Linked DNA regions of Homo sapiens: all the other regions are linked to region 1. The links are contacts of gene promoters, found by promoter capture Hi-C in blood cells and fetal thymus (Javierre and others, 2016). All regions are on one chromosome and are shown on one strand. The core of a region is centred on a gene start or on the middle of the fragment in contact, and the rest is flanking DNA. Distances in the headings are between cores, read along the strand shown.

The links. The method cuts DNA at HindIII sites, captures the fragments that hold promoters and counts their contacts. A CHiCAGO score of 5 or more calls a contact.
Region 2: a contact is called between a fragment that was not itself captured here and the fragment with the promoter of RPGRIP1L in region 1, in 4 of 17 cell types (total CD4 T cells, total CD8 T cells, naive CD8 T cells and 1 more). The highest score is 6.8, in total CD4 T cells.
Region 3: a fragment that was not itself captured here is called in contact with the fragment with the promoter of RPGRIP1L in region 1 in 5 of 17 cell types (activated CD4 T cells, naive CD8 T cells, total CD8 T cells and 2 more); the score reaches 8.3 in activated CD4 T cells.

The regions. Positions count from the first base shown.
Region 1 is chr16:53,701,775-53,705,849 of GRCh38, forward strand. RPGRIP1L (RPGRIP1 like) reads right to left here and starts at 2,085. Exons shown (of 27, transcript NM_015272.5): 1 at 2,029-2,085. FTO (FTO alpha-ketoglutarate dependent dioxygenase) reads left to right here and starts at 2,382. Exons shown (of 9, transcript NM_001080432.3): 1 at 2,382-2,455. The coding sequence starts at 2,411. RefSeq lists a silencer at 1,995-2,044 and enhancers at 2,080-2,580, 2,195-2,604. The HindIII fragment of the contact is 16,527 bases long and covers 1-4,075 here.
Region 2 is chr16:53,056,731-53,060,805 of GRCh38, forward strand. The region is part of intron 1 of CHD9 (chromodomain helicase DNA binding protein 9); the gene reads left to right. Among named protein-coding and RNA genes, the nearest start is that of CHD9, 3.8 kb to the left of the region's middle. RefSeq lists an enhancer at 1,299-1,348 and a silencer at 3,895-4,075. The HindIII fragment of the contact is 1,942 bases long and covers 1,289-3,230 here.
Region 3 is chr16:53,132,809-53,136,883 of GRCh38, forward strand. All of the region lies in intron 1 of CHD9 (chromodomain helicase DNA binding protein 9), which reads left to right. Among named protein-coding and RNA genes, the nearest start is that of CHD9, 80 kb to the left of the region's middle. The HindIII fragment of the contact is 1,120 bases long and covers 1,859-2,978 here.

The DNA of each region.
Region 1 (4,075 bases), core at 835-3,334:
CATGGGGTTTCAGGGTCTGTGAACCCAGAGATGGTTTACCAAATTTTGTATGTATATGTATATATGCAATATCTTTTAAAGAGGGTTCATAACTTTTATTACAACTCGCAAATGGTGGAGAACCATTGCATTTTGCTTTTACAGAAACAGCTAACAGACAAATCCTTGGGAGATCATCTACTTCTTTTGGAAGTACTCCTATAGAAAAGGTCAATTTTTAGGATCCTGTTGACACATAGGCCCGTGTATGAAAATGATTAGTTTTCCATGACAGAGTTAAGGTCACTTTAAAAATAATAATGATGATGATGATGATGATGGTGTTAACATTCATTGAACGCTTACTATGTGCCAGGTACTGTTCTAAGTGTTCTGTTATAGGAATGAAGTGTCTCACCATATCCTTGTGAGGCTGTTACTCAAATGATTCCTGCTTTACAAATGAGGAAGCTGAGACACAGATTAGTTAACTCACTTAAGGTGGTAGTTGAAAGTATTAATAGTTGTGTCTGGTGATATTTTTGGTTGTCACAACAAGGAAGCGGGATGCTACTGGCATCTAGTGAGTAGAGGCCATGGATGATGCTAAATATCTTACAGTGCTTAGGAGACATAATAATGAATTATCCAGCCCAAAATGTTAATAATAGTGTAGAAGCTGAAAAACCCTGCACAATGCTGCAATGCCTCTCCAACACCATCTTATGTTATCCTTCTTTGCTCACTATGCTTCACTTACATTATTCTTTACTTTCCTCGAACCCCCCATACCCTTGTCTTGCTCAAGGCCTTTGTATTAGCTGGTTCCTTAATCTTTGGAGCTCAGTTCACTTCCTCAGACAGGTTTTCCCTGACCATCCTATGTTAGAGTAGTCTTCCTTACATTTCTTCACTGTTTATTTCTTTTCTTTTCTTTTTTTTTTTTTTGAGACAGGGTCTTGCTATGTTGCCCGGGCTGGCCTTGAATTCATGGGTTCAAGTGATCCTCCCACCTCAGCCTCCCGAGTAGCTGGAACTACATGTGCGTGCCACCAAGCATGGCTTGTATCTCTTATAGCAACTGCCTCTATCTGAAGTTATCAGATAAAATTATTGTTTGTCTCCACTAAAAAAGGATAAACATCTTGAGACGGGTATTAGTCTTGTTCACAACTGTTCAGGAACAGTGCCTGGTACAGGGTGGGAACCAACATTAATATTTATTGAATGATTGGCTGTGCGTGGTGGCTCACACCTGTAATCCCAGCACTTTGCGAGGCCGAGACGGGCGGCTGACTTCAGGCCAGGAGTTCGAGACCAGCCTGGCCAACATGATGAAACCCTGTCTCTACTAAAAATACAAAAATTAGCTGGGTGTGGTGGCACACGCCTGTAATCCCAGCTACTCGGGAGGCTGAGGCAGAAGAATCGCTTGAACCTGGGAGGAGGAGTTTGCAGTAAGCTGAGGTCTTACCACTGCACTCCAGCCTGGGCAACGGAGCAAGAACCTGTCACACACACAAAAAAAAGAATAAAGAAAAAATATTTATTGAATGAATAAATGAATATCAGGTACTGAGATTAAAATGGCAAGCAAAACCCCCGCCTTTATGAAGCTAGCAAGTTATGGAGGTAATCACATGATAAACAAATAATATATAATTAAGCAAACAATAGACCACTCAGGAGGTTTAGGGTCTACCAACCAACTCCTAATCCAGGGCAAATGAGCAAACTGTGTTAGGGACCTACAACTTGCAGGATCTGGATAGAGATGGCAATTAGCAGCATCAACTCTCACCTTCATGGCTGGGATATAACATTTCAAATTGGTCCTGGACGTGGGGATAAAGGGCGGCCTGTGATTCAGGCCTGAGGATGTGGAGGTGTCTTGGGCTGGGCTGCTTTCACGCCAGCAGAACTCCAGGGCCAACTCCAGGGCCTTCTCCAGGCGGCAGAGCGGACCCTAGGACCCCGGCCCGCGCTGCAGTGGGGAGGGTCAGCAACCTCCACCCACCCTCATCCTCCCCCATCCTCCCGGGTACTCACCGTGCCACTGGCCCTGCAGCTAGCTACCGTTGCTATAGCGCCGACAGCGTGGCGGGCGGCTGGCCGAGAGGAGCACGGGAGAAACATGGCAGGCTCCCGTAGCCTCCTGGGAAATGTAGTTCTCCTTGGACTCTAGCCTGTTTGCTCGCGGGGTAGCGGACTACGCTCTTCCAGCTGTCGGACCTGGGAAATTCTCCTGTGCTAAATCCCGTGGCGCTCGCGGGTGTCGCCGCGGTGCATCCTGGGAGTTGTAGTTTTTTCTACTCAGAGGGAGAATAGCTCCAGACGGGAGCAGGACGCTGAGAGAACTACATGCAGGAGGCGGGGTCCAGGGCGAGGGATCTACGCAGCTTGCGGTGGCGAAGGCGGCTTTAGTGGCAGCATGAAGCGCACCCCGACTGCCGAGGAACGAGAGCGCGAAGCTAAGGTATGTCGGGCTCCCGGGGCCTGGAGATCTTCGTGCGCTGTGAGCAAGGATCAGGGAACCGGAAGGGCTTGGTTTGATGGCGAGCGGATGCGCGGTGTTAAACTAAGGGATGACAGGGCCTTGTCAGCAAGGGACCTGGAGATATTAGAGGGGATGTTACAAATTCGTGCTCTTCAGGATGCAGGCCGAGTCTTGTTGGATCGGCTCAAAAATGAGAAGCAAGATACCCATTTCCTTGTCCTTCTTCTGCATCTATTCCTTGGTTAAATTTGTCGCCATCCCTGTGCCTCAGTTTACCGGATTCTCAGATGACTGTGATCATACCAGCTGTGCTTTCTCATAATGGTCTCTGAGGACTGAGATCGGCTTAGATGAAATATCTGTGCAGTCAGCTGTGTTTCTTTGGAACAATTGTCTCCGTGACCGGCTGATAACAGTTTGTGTCTTTTAGCGCTGTGGATATGAATCTTTAACTACATTGCTCCTCTCTACCTTTGATGTTCAGCTTCTGGTAGTTGCCATTCCATGGGATGACCATAATAATGGCAACAGAGATTTTAAAAAGCATTTATTGTGGGTCAGGCACTGTATTAAGTGCATAATATTTAAATTATTTCATATCATTGTCACAGCAGATTGCAAGATAGATATTATACAGATGGAGTATAAATAACAGCCCAGCTTCACAGATGAAGAACTGAGGCTCAGAAGCATTGAGTGTTTTCCTTTCTCTCATTCCCAAACTCAGATCCTGTTGATTTGTCTACGTATATTGGGAATATGCCCACTTTTTTTTTTTTTCATCTCCACTACCTTGGACCAAGCTACCATTATCTTTTTAATAGACTGTTGGAATAGCCTATTGATTGGCCTACACTCACTCTACACCCTAACTTAACTCTTCTTCCACCTTCTCTCCCTTCCCTCAACTACCATTCTCTTCTGCACACCATAGAGTAAGATCTTCGTGAAATGCAAATATAATTATGTCCCTTTCCTTTCTCCTTACTCTGCCAACCACCTGTTTAAAAATATTCCATGGCTTTCTGTTGCTCTTAGGATAAAGGCAAAACTTCACATTGCCTACAAGATCCTGCATGATCTGGACCCTACCTGCTTTCACAACCCCATTGGATATGACACTCTGCTCTCTGCCTACCAGTCACTTTGGCCTTCTTAAAAGTCACTCTTCACTATACTTTATCGGGCTTCAGGGCCTTTGCACATGTCATTTGCTGCCTACTCTATGTTAGGCAAATATTGGCAGTGAATAACAGTGTTAAATAACGTAGACACAGTTCTTGCTTTCATAGAATTTCATCTTACACGTGAGTCTGTTTAGGGCAATACACCTAAGGATTTAAAATATAAAATCTGCTCTATATTGACCTGAGTTATTGCAGTATTTCGTAAGGGACCAGAAGTTTTCATGCTTGAGTCTGCATATGATGTGGATAATATATTAAAGATAAGCACAAAGAGGGCGACCCTTCTGCTTTAGTCTACACAGTGCAAAGAAACAAATGTCACCTCATGGTGTTGTGCATGATGTCTTTCTCATCTTTCAGGTTTATTTTTAAAGTATTTCATTTATTCTGTGAAGATTTGTTGAGCACCTAT
Region 2 (4,075 bases), core at 1,010-3,509, 640 kb before region 1:
ATTTATTATTGAGAGCCTACTGTGGGCCAGGCAGTTTTCCAGATGCTAGAGATAAAATATGAGTAAGACAGAATTCAGCCAGCCCCGAATGAGAGAAACAGGAAGAAAGTGCAGTAGATTCTCATTATTCACAAGTTCTAAATTTGCAAATTCTTCCCTGTAATCCCAGCACTTTGAGAGGCTGAGGCAGGAGGATCGCTTGAGGCTAGGAGTTTCAGATCAGCCTGTGCAACAGAGCAAGGCCCTGTTTGCTTAAAAATTATACACATTGAATAATTCTTAAAAAAAATTTGTTTGTGGCCAGGCATGGTGGCTCATGCATATAATCCCAGTACTTTGGGAAGCTGAGGCAGAAAGATTACTTGAGGCTAGGAGTTCCAGATCAGCCTGGGTAACACAGTAAGACCCTATATCTTTATTTTAAAAATTATATAATTAAAGAATTTTTAAAAAAATATGTTTGTGGCCGGGTGTGGTGGCTCACACCTGTAATCCCAGCACTTTGGGAGACTGAGGTGTGAGGTTAGGAGTTTGAATTTAGGAGTTTGACACCAGCCTAATCACTTGAGCTAAGGAGTTTGAGACCAGCCTGGACAGCATAGAGAGACCTTGGCTCATTTAAAAAAAAAAAGAGGAAAAAAGGCCGGGTGCAGTGGCTCATGCCTGTAATCCCAGCACTTTGGGAGGCCGAGGTGGGTGGATACCTGAGGTCAAGAGTTCGAGACCAGCCTGGCCAACATGGCAAAACCCCGTCTCTACTAAAAATTCAAAAAATTAGCTGGGCGTGGTGGCAAGAGCCCGTAATCCCAGCTGCTTGGGAGGCTGAGGCAGGAGAATTGCTTGAACCTGGGAGGTGGAAGTTGCAGTGAGCCAAGATCACGCCATTGTACTCCAGCCTGGGCAACAACAGCGAAACTCCATCTCAAAAAAAAAAAAGAAAGAAAAAAGAAAAATAATGTCTGCGTAACTTCCAAATCAATATCCATGACACTTTCACAGTCATATATGGATGCACGTAGAATAGTGAAAAAGTTGAGTCACCCAACGTGCACATTTCCAGCCAAGGGCAAACAGGAGGACACGCTGCTTTCTGGTTTCAGCTCTTGTGCTATAAACAAGTGTCCCTTTTGTGGTGTACTTAGTGCCACATTTTTTGCATGTTTGTGTGTTTTTGTTTGTGATGTCGCTGTTTGAAATGGCCCCAAGTGTACAGTTGACGTGCTGTCTAGTGTTCCTAAGTATGAGAAGGCTGCGATGTGCCTTACAGAGAAAGCTTGTCTGTTAGGTAAGCTTCGTTCAGGCATGAGTTATAGTGCAGTTGGCTGAGTTCAGTGTTAATGAATAATATGTATATATATCAACAATATATATCAAATAAGGTGTCTTTTGTCTTTGTTTTTGTTTTTTTGAGATGGAGTCTCACTCTGTCTCCCAGGCTGGAGTGCAGTGGCACGATGTCAGCTCACTGCAGTCTCCACCTCTGGAGTTCAAGCGATTCTCCTGCCTCAGCCTCCCATGTAGCTGGTACTACAGGCACATGCCACCACGCCCAGCTAATTTTTGTATTTTTAGTAGAGACGAGGTTTCACCATGTTGCCCAGGCTGGTCTCGAGCTCCCGACCTCAGGTGATCACCCACTTTGGCCTCCAAAGTGCTAGGATTACAGGCTCAAGCCACAGCACCTGGCCTATAAGGTATCTTTAAACAGAAACACACATAAACAAAGGTTATGCATTGATCTGCCAGGCAGAAGGTGGGGTTAGAAAAAGATGTTTCTGGCAGAAAGGTCAGCATGTACAGAGATAGCCAAGAGCTTGGCAAGGCCAGGGGACTCAAGGAGAGCCAGTGGGCAGGGAGTGTGGTGGTGAAAGGGAGAGAGGCTGGGGCCAGGCGGCTCAGTGTCTTGTGGGCAGCTCTCATTTCATCCGATTAGCACGGTAATCCTGGCAGGTTGGACAGGATCATTTCCGCCTTTGAGAGATGATGAAATTGACGTTCCATGCTGTTAAATGACTTGCCCAAAGTTGCACTGCTGGTAAGCAGCAACACCCCCCACCCTCCAACTTAATCTAATGTTGACCAGACATTTGGGTTTTTTGTTTTGTTTTGTTTTGTTGGTTTTTGGTTTCTTTTGTTGTTGTTTTTAAGACACAGGGTCTTGCTCTGTCACCCATGCCTCCTGTAGTGGTATGATCATAGCTACTGCAGCCTCAACCTCCTGAGCTCGAGGGATCCTCCCACCCAGCCAAGTAGCTGGGGCTACAGGTGCACACCATCATGCCCAGCTAATTTTTTAAGTAGGGTCTTACTGTGTTGCCTAGGCTGGTCTCCAACTCCTAGACTCAAGTGTTTCTCCTGCCTTGGCCTCTCAAAGCACTGAGATTACAAGCATGATCTACCTTACCTGGCCAACATTTGGGTATTGATCAGAAATCTCAGGACGTGGGCTGGAGGTTTGGTTTGTTCTGGGGAGAAATCAGTAACTAAGTGGTGGTGAAAGTGATCAAGCGTCGATGAAACCACGTGGGATAGTGGCAGGGTGTGGAGAAGAAAATTTCTCATGTCCTTTAAAAAAGAAAAATATTTCTGGTGGCTGGGCACAGTGGCATATGCCTGTAATCCCAGCACTTTGGGAAGCAGAAGTGGGAGGAATGCTTGAGGCCAAGAGTTCAAGACTAGCCTGGGCAACATAGTGAGACCCCCACCTCTATCTTTAACAACAAGAAAAATGGAAAAAAAATTTAGTCAAAAAATATTACTGGTATAAAGACATGAATTCCTCTGTGAAAGAGTCTTAGGTACTTGCAGAGGGTGGGAGTAATGACCATGGTCATAAAGATGTGGCAAAAGGAAATGTGAGGTTCTGATTCAAACTGCCCCCAAATACTAGGTCTGGGCATCGGCCTCCCCACTCATGGGGCAGCCAGGCCTCAATCTGCCTCTTGTCTCTGCAGGATAATGACCGTGAACAGGCATCAGCAAACTTTTTCTGTAAAGGTCCAGAGAGTAAATATTTTGAGCTTTATGGACCATAGGGTTTCAGTTGCAACTGCAGTAAATTCTCAATTAATGTCCTCGTTAGGTTCTTAGAAACTGCAACTTTAAGCGAAATGACGTACAGTAAGTCCAAGTAACGTCGTTTCTTGTAATGTTGATGAGAAACTGCCACTGTAGAGTAAAAGCAGCCGTAGATGGTATGTAAACAAATGAGTATATCTGGGTTCCAATAAAGCTTTATGGACACTGAAGTTTTGAATTTCACATAATTTTTCTGTGTCACAAAATATTATTCTTTAAACATTTTTTTCAACCATTTAAAAATGTAAAAGCTGGCCAGGCATGGTGGCTCATATCTGTGATCCCAGGACTTTGGAAGACCAAGGAGGGAGGATTGCTTGGGGCCAGGAGTTCAAGACCAGCCTGGGCAACATAGCAAGACCCCCATCTCTACAAACAAACAAACAAATAAATAATGTAAAAACCATTCTTAGCTCACAGGCTATACAAAAACAGGCAGTAGGCTGGATGTGGCCTGTGGGCTGTAGTTTGCTGACTCCTGATCCCGAATAATGAGACCTGAGGATCAGAAGGATACTAGGTAGGTTGGGTGCAGTGGCTCATGCCTGTAGCCCCAGCACTTTGTGAAGCTGAGGCAGGAGGATTGCTTGAGGCCAGGAGTTCAAGGTCAGCCTGGGCAACATAGTGAGACCTCATTTCTATTTTAAAAATTTTAAAAATTAGCTGGGGCCTGGATTGGTGGCTCACACCTGTAATTCCAGAACTTTGGGGGGCTGAGGTGGGAGGATTACTTGAGTCTAGAAGTTCCAGACCAGCCTGGGCAACATAGCAAGACCCCATATCTACAAAAAAATGAAAAATTAGCCAGGTGTGGTGGTGCACCTGTAGTCCCAGCTACTCAGGAGGCTGAGGTAAGCGAATCAATTGAGCTGAGGAGTTTGAGGTTGCAATGAGCCATGATCATGCCACTGCGCTCCAGCCTGGGCAACTGAGGGGGACCCTGTCTCAAAAAACAAACGAAAATTAGCTGGGCATGGTGGCATGCACCTGCAGCCCC
Region 3 (4,075 bases), core at 1,169-3,668, 570 kb before region 1:
TTTTTTTTTTTTGGTGTTGAGACGGAGTCTCGCTCTGTCACCCAGGCTGGAGCGCAGTGACGCCATCTCGGCTCACTGCAACCTCTTCCTCCCAGGTTCAAGCAGTTCTCCAACCTCAGCCTCCCCAGTAGCTGGGATTACAGGTGCGCGCCACCACGCCCGGCCGTTTCTTCTATTGCTTTAAAAATTCACGTTATGTAGTTATAGTTTACCACAAAGTATTGGCAGGTCTCTGTCCTTGGAGAGTTTCCTATAAACTATAGACCATATAATGTAGACGTGAAGTCTGTATTACAGACCTGAAGTGCATTGGGAAAAGTGGTTGCCTCCCAGTTTTGATTAAGGGTAACTGTCATTCCTGAACAGTTTCAGGTAAGTATGTATAGTATTGCAGTTAAAAACAGCAACAACAAAAAACCCTTGTGATTAATTGACCAGGAGATGATATCCTAAAGGCACAGGAAATAACATCAGATAAAAGCAATGCTAGTCAAAAACATACTAAGTAAGGTGTATGAGCAGGCTACTTTAATCGGGGGCGGCTCTTAATAGGGAGGCTGAGGCAGGAGAATCACTTGAGCCAAGAGTTCAAGTCCAGCCTGGGCAACTTATTAAGACTGCATCCCGTCTCTATTAAGAAAAAAAAAATTATGATGCTTTTATAACCAGTAAAATCCTCTTCTTGGATAGAGTGCTGGCTAGAGAGAATCGGGACTTTGTCACTTAACTGTGTAGATAATATTAAGTTTCTTGACATCCGTGAGCCTTAGTTTCCTCCTGTGTAAAACTTTGTTTCCTCCAGTTTTACTATTGTAGGATTCTAAGTACCCTATGAGGTCTATCCTCTGAAATCAAAAACTTATGGGGTGGGCAGATATGAATACAGATAGAAAACGGTGTCCATGGAAAAAGCCCGTGACAAGATAAGATTAAGGAAACCATAGAATTTTCAACTTGGAAGTATCTTTAGAAACTTTAATTACAAACTTCTTATCTAATGCAACCGAATGCTTTCTACAAGGCACTGTGCTAGACCTTCCTGGTTTACCTCTGGAAACAGGATAGAGCTGAAGGAGGGGCTCGATATATGAATATAAGAGGCAAGAACTGAAGTAGAAATACAGATTTTAAAGTAAAATCTATTGCATCTATCAATAGTAAAACAAAATTTTGGTACATATGAAAAGTTAAGATTTTCTAAAGATGTGTTTATTGATCGAAATGTCATAGAAAAAAAAGCTTACCTCCGTAAATAACAGAGAAGAAAAATGAAATCCTAGAGAGTCTATAAAGAAAAACTATGAATTAATCTACTGGGGAAATTTCATCGGGTAATGAGTGAATAAAAAACACAGGTAAGAATATGGAAACTTGAGGCAGTTGGTCAGAGTAAAAACTAATGGAAGCATGTTGTAAGTGCTTGGAAAACTTCAGAAGCCAAAGATTGGAGTCAGAAGAGATTTATGGATACTGATGAGATAGAGTTATTTTAACCTTTCAAATTCTTTGAAGTTGTCTTAACGTGGGATATAGATTTCTTATATAAGATTTAGCTTTTTTACACTTATTTACGTTGTAAATTTAAAGTGCCACATTCCAGTTTTATAACTGTTCCCTAGCACTTTGTGCCTCTGTTTACTTCCTTATTTGGGCTTCACTCCCTTACTTTTCCACCTCTTGGAATTTTACCAGTCTGTGAATACTCAGGTCAAATTCCACCTTGTGAATAAAATCGTATCTTGTCCTTGTAGCCCTTAGGGATTTCTCCTTCCCATGAGATCTTAGTATAATTATTTGTTGCACTTATTTGGCATACCATGTACAACTTCCTGACATTTCCTCTACTGTATTGTCTTTAAGCTTTCAGAAACAATTTTTATTCCTTTCTTTTAGAAACAGTTGGAAAGCTGATCAAGTGACAATGGGAGACCCAAAGAAGGGGAAACCACTTTGAACTGTAATTTATTCTCTGGACTCAAAGTCATTCACATCCATTTATTCATTAAATGTATATATTATGAAGTGCTCCCTTAATTTATGATATATGTATTAAGTGCATAATAAGTGATCCCTGCCTTCATGGAACCTACCATCTAACAGTGCAAACAGATAAAGAACAAGTAAATAAACAAATGGAAAATTACAACTTATGATCAGTTCAGTGAAATAAAAGAACAGAGTGCTATGGTGGAGAAAATGGGGAGAAATTAATGTTGTATTCTCAGAGAAGGCTTCCCTCAGTTGGTGATTCTAAGTGGAAACAGAATAAGAAGACAGGTCAGGAGAGAAAAGAGTTTCTTGGAAGAGAGAAAAATATGTTTGAAGGCTATGACACAGGAAAGAACTTAATATTTGAAAGAAATGAAAAGTTCAGGATGGCAGAAGCATAATAAGGCAGAAAACCATATGAGCTGAAATGAGAGATAGAAAGCAGATTATACAGGGCCTTGTGGGGCATATTAAAGACTTACAGGTTTTACTAAAGACATTGCAGTCGTTGAAGATTTTGAATTAGAGAAGTGATACGCTTTAATCTACATTTTAAAAATGCTACTTTGAGAATGGATTGGAGAAAGGCAAGGGTGAAAGTAAAGATATTGTAATACTACAGTAGTCCAGGAAAAACATGATGGTAGCCAGATTATACATATATTTTAGAGAGGAGATGGTGAGGTGTGGAGGAGGAACAACTGACAGATTCATGATGGATTGGATGTGAGAAGAAAAGTGTCAAAAATGATTTCCTGGTTCCTGGCTTGAGAAACTAGATAGATAGTGGTGTGTGATTTACTGAGATGAAGAAGATGAGGGAAAGGAAAGATTTGGCAAGAAAACAAGTTTTGAACACCATCCCTGGACAAGTGCTTCAGAAGAAGTCTACCTTTATCTGAATGATAAGCGCCTTAGAATAGGTTTAGCTAGAAGTGTGATACCATACAATGACATATTCATATTGTGTTATTTGAGAGGAAGAAGCAAGCTTCATATTTATGTTAGAAAAACTGGTGAAATGATCTTTTTTAACAATGCACTTCAGTTTTTGAAAGTTTATTTGAATATTTTCATAATGGATTATATTAAATATGAAAATTTGAGAGAAATAAATCAATATAATATTGAATGGATATATATAGTATTGGGTGATGGTGCAGAATACAAAAGTTTTATAATCTTGATATTCTCAGGAGAGTAGCATTCTTTTCAGTTATTAGCTTGTAAGGGAGCCTGATAATTTATAATTTTTAATGAGGCTTCTCATTTAATGGTGCTTATAAGTAGAAGTTATAGTTCAGTCATTACTAGCTATTATTTCTAAAATAGCTGTCAGATACTGATGTTTCTGTTACAATTTGGCATTATGAAGTTAACCAAGCAAATATTAAGTTTGGTTTTTGTTTGATTTTTACTATATTTCAAAACATTTTAAAACTAGTAATTTTAAACATTGTTATTGCTATAAAGGGACATAGTTTGAAACCAGAAAAAAGATGACCTTTCTTGTCTAGTGGTCTTTTCATATTAGTTTACTTACTAATCAGTAGCAGTATAAAGAATATTCAATTTTATTCTATTGGAAATCAGTAACTATGGTTCTGAAAGATAACTGCTGATGTATCTTGTTCCTTTGTAAGAGGAAGGAAAAAATGATATTTTTTGATTCTGTCTTTGCAATGTTTATCTTTAAAATGGCAATCAAATAGTCACTAAAATTTTTTTCTTCCATTTAAGGAACTGAGTACCTTTTCCTAAAAAAAAAAAAAAAATCTAGGAATTTAAGATTACAGACTTGGTGTAGTCTGTTTTACAGTTGAAGCAACGGAGGTACAGAGAAACTGAGTTGCCCGGGGTTTCTAATATTAGGGAATGCTTTATTTCATGGGTTTCATAATTTAGTGAATTCACTACATATTCCAATATATGAACACACTTATTCTGCTTTGGTGAGTGTTTATTGAAATCAGTATTGTTATTGGCACCCTGAAAGCTTTCCTTATATTCTTTTCTAGTTATTCCCTTTCTGTATTCTGTATTCCCAAGATAATAGGGTGACCATTATCTTGATGTCTAAAAACCA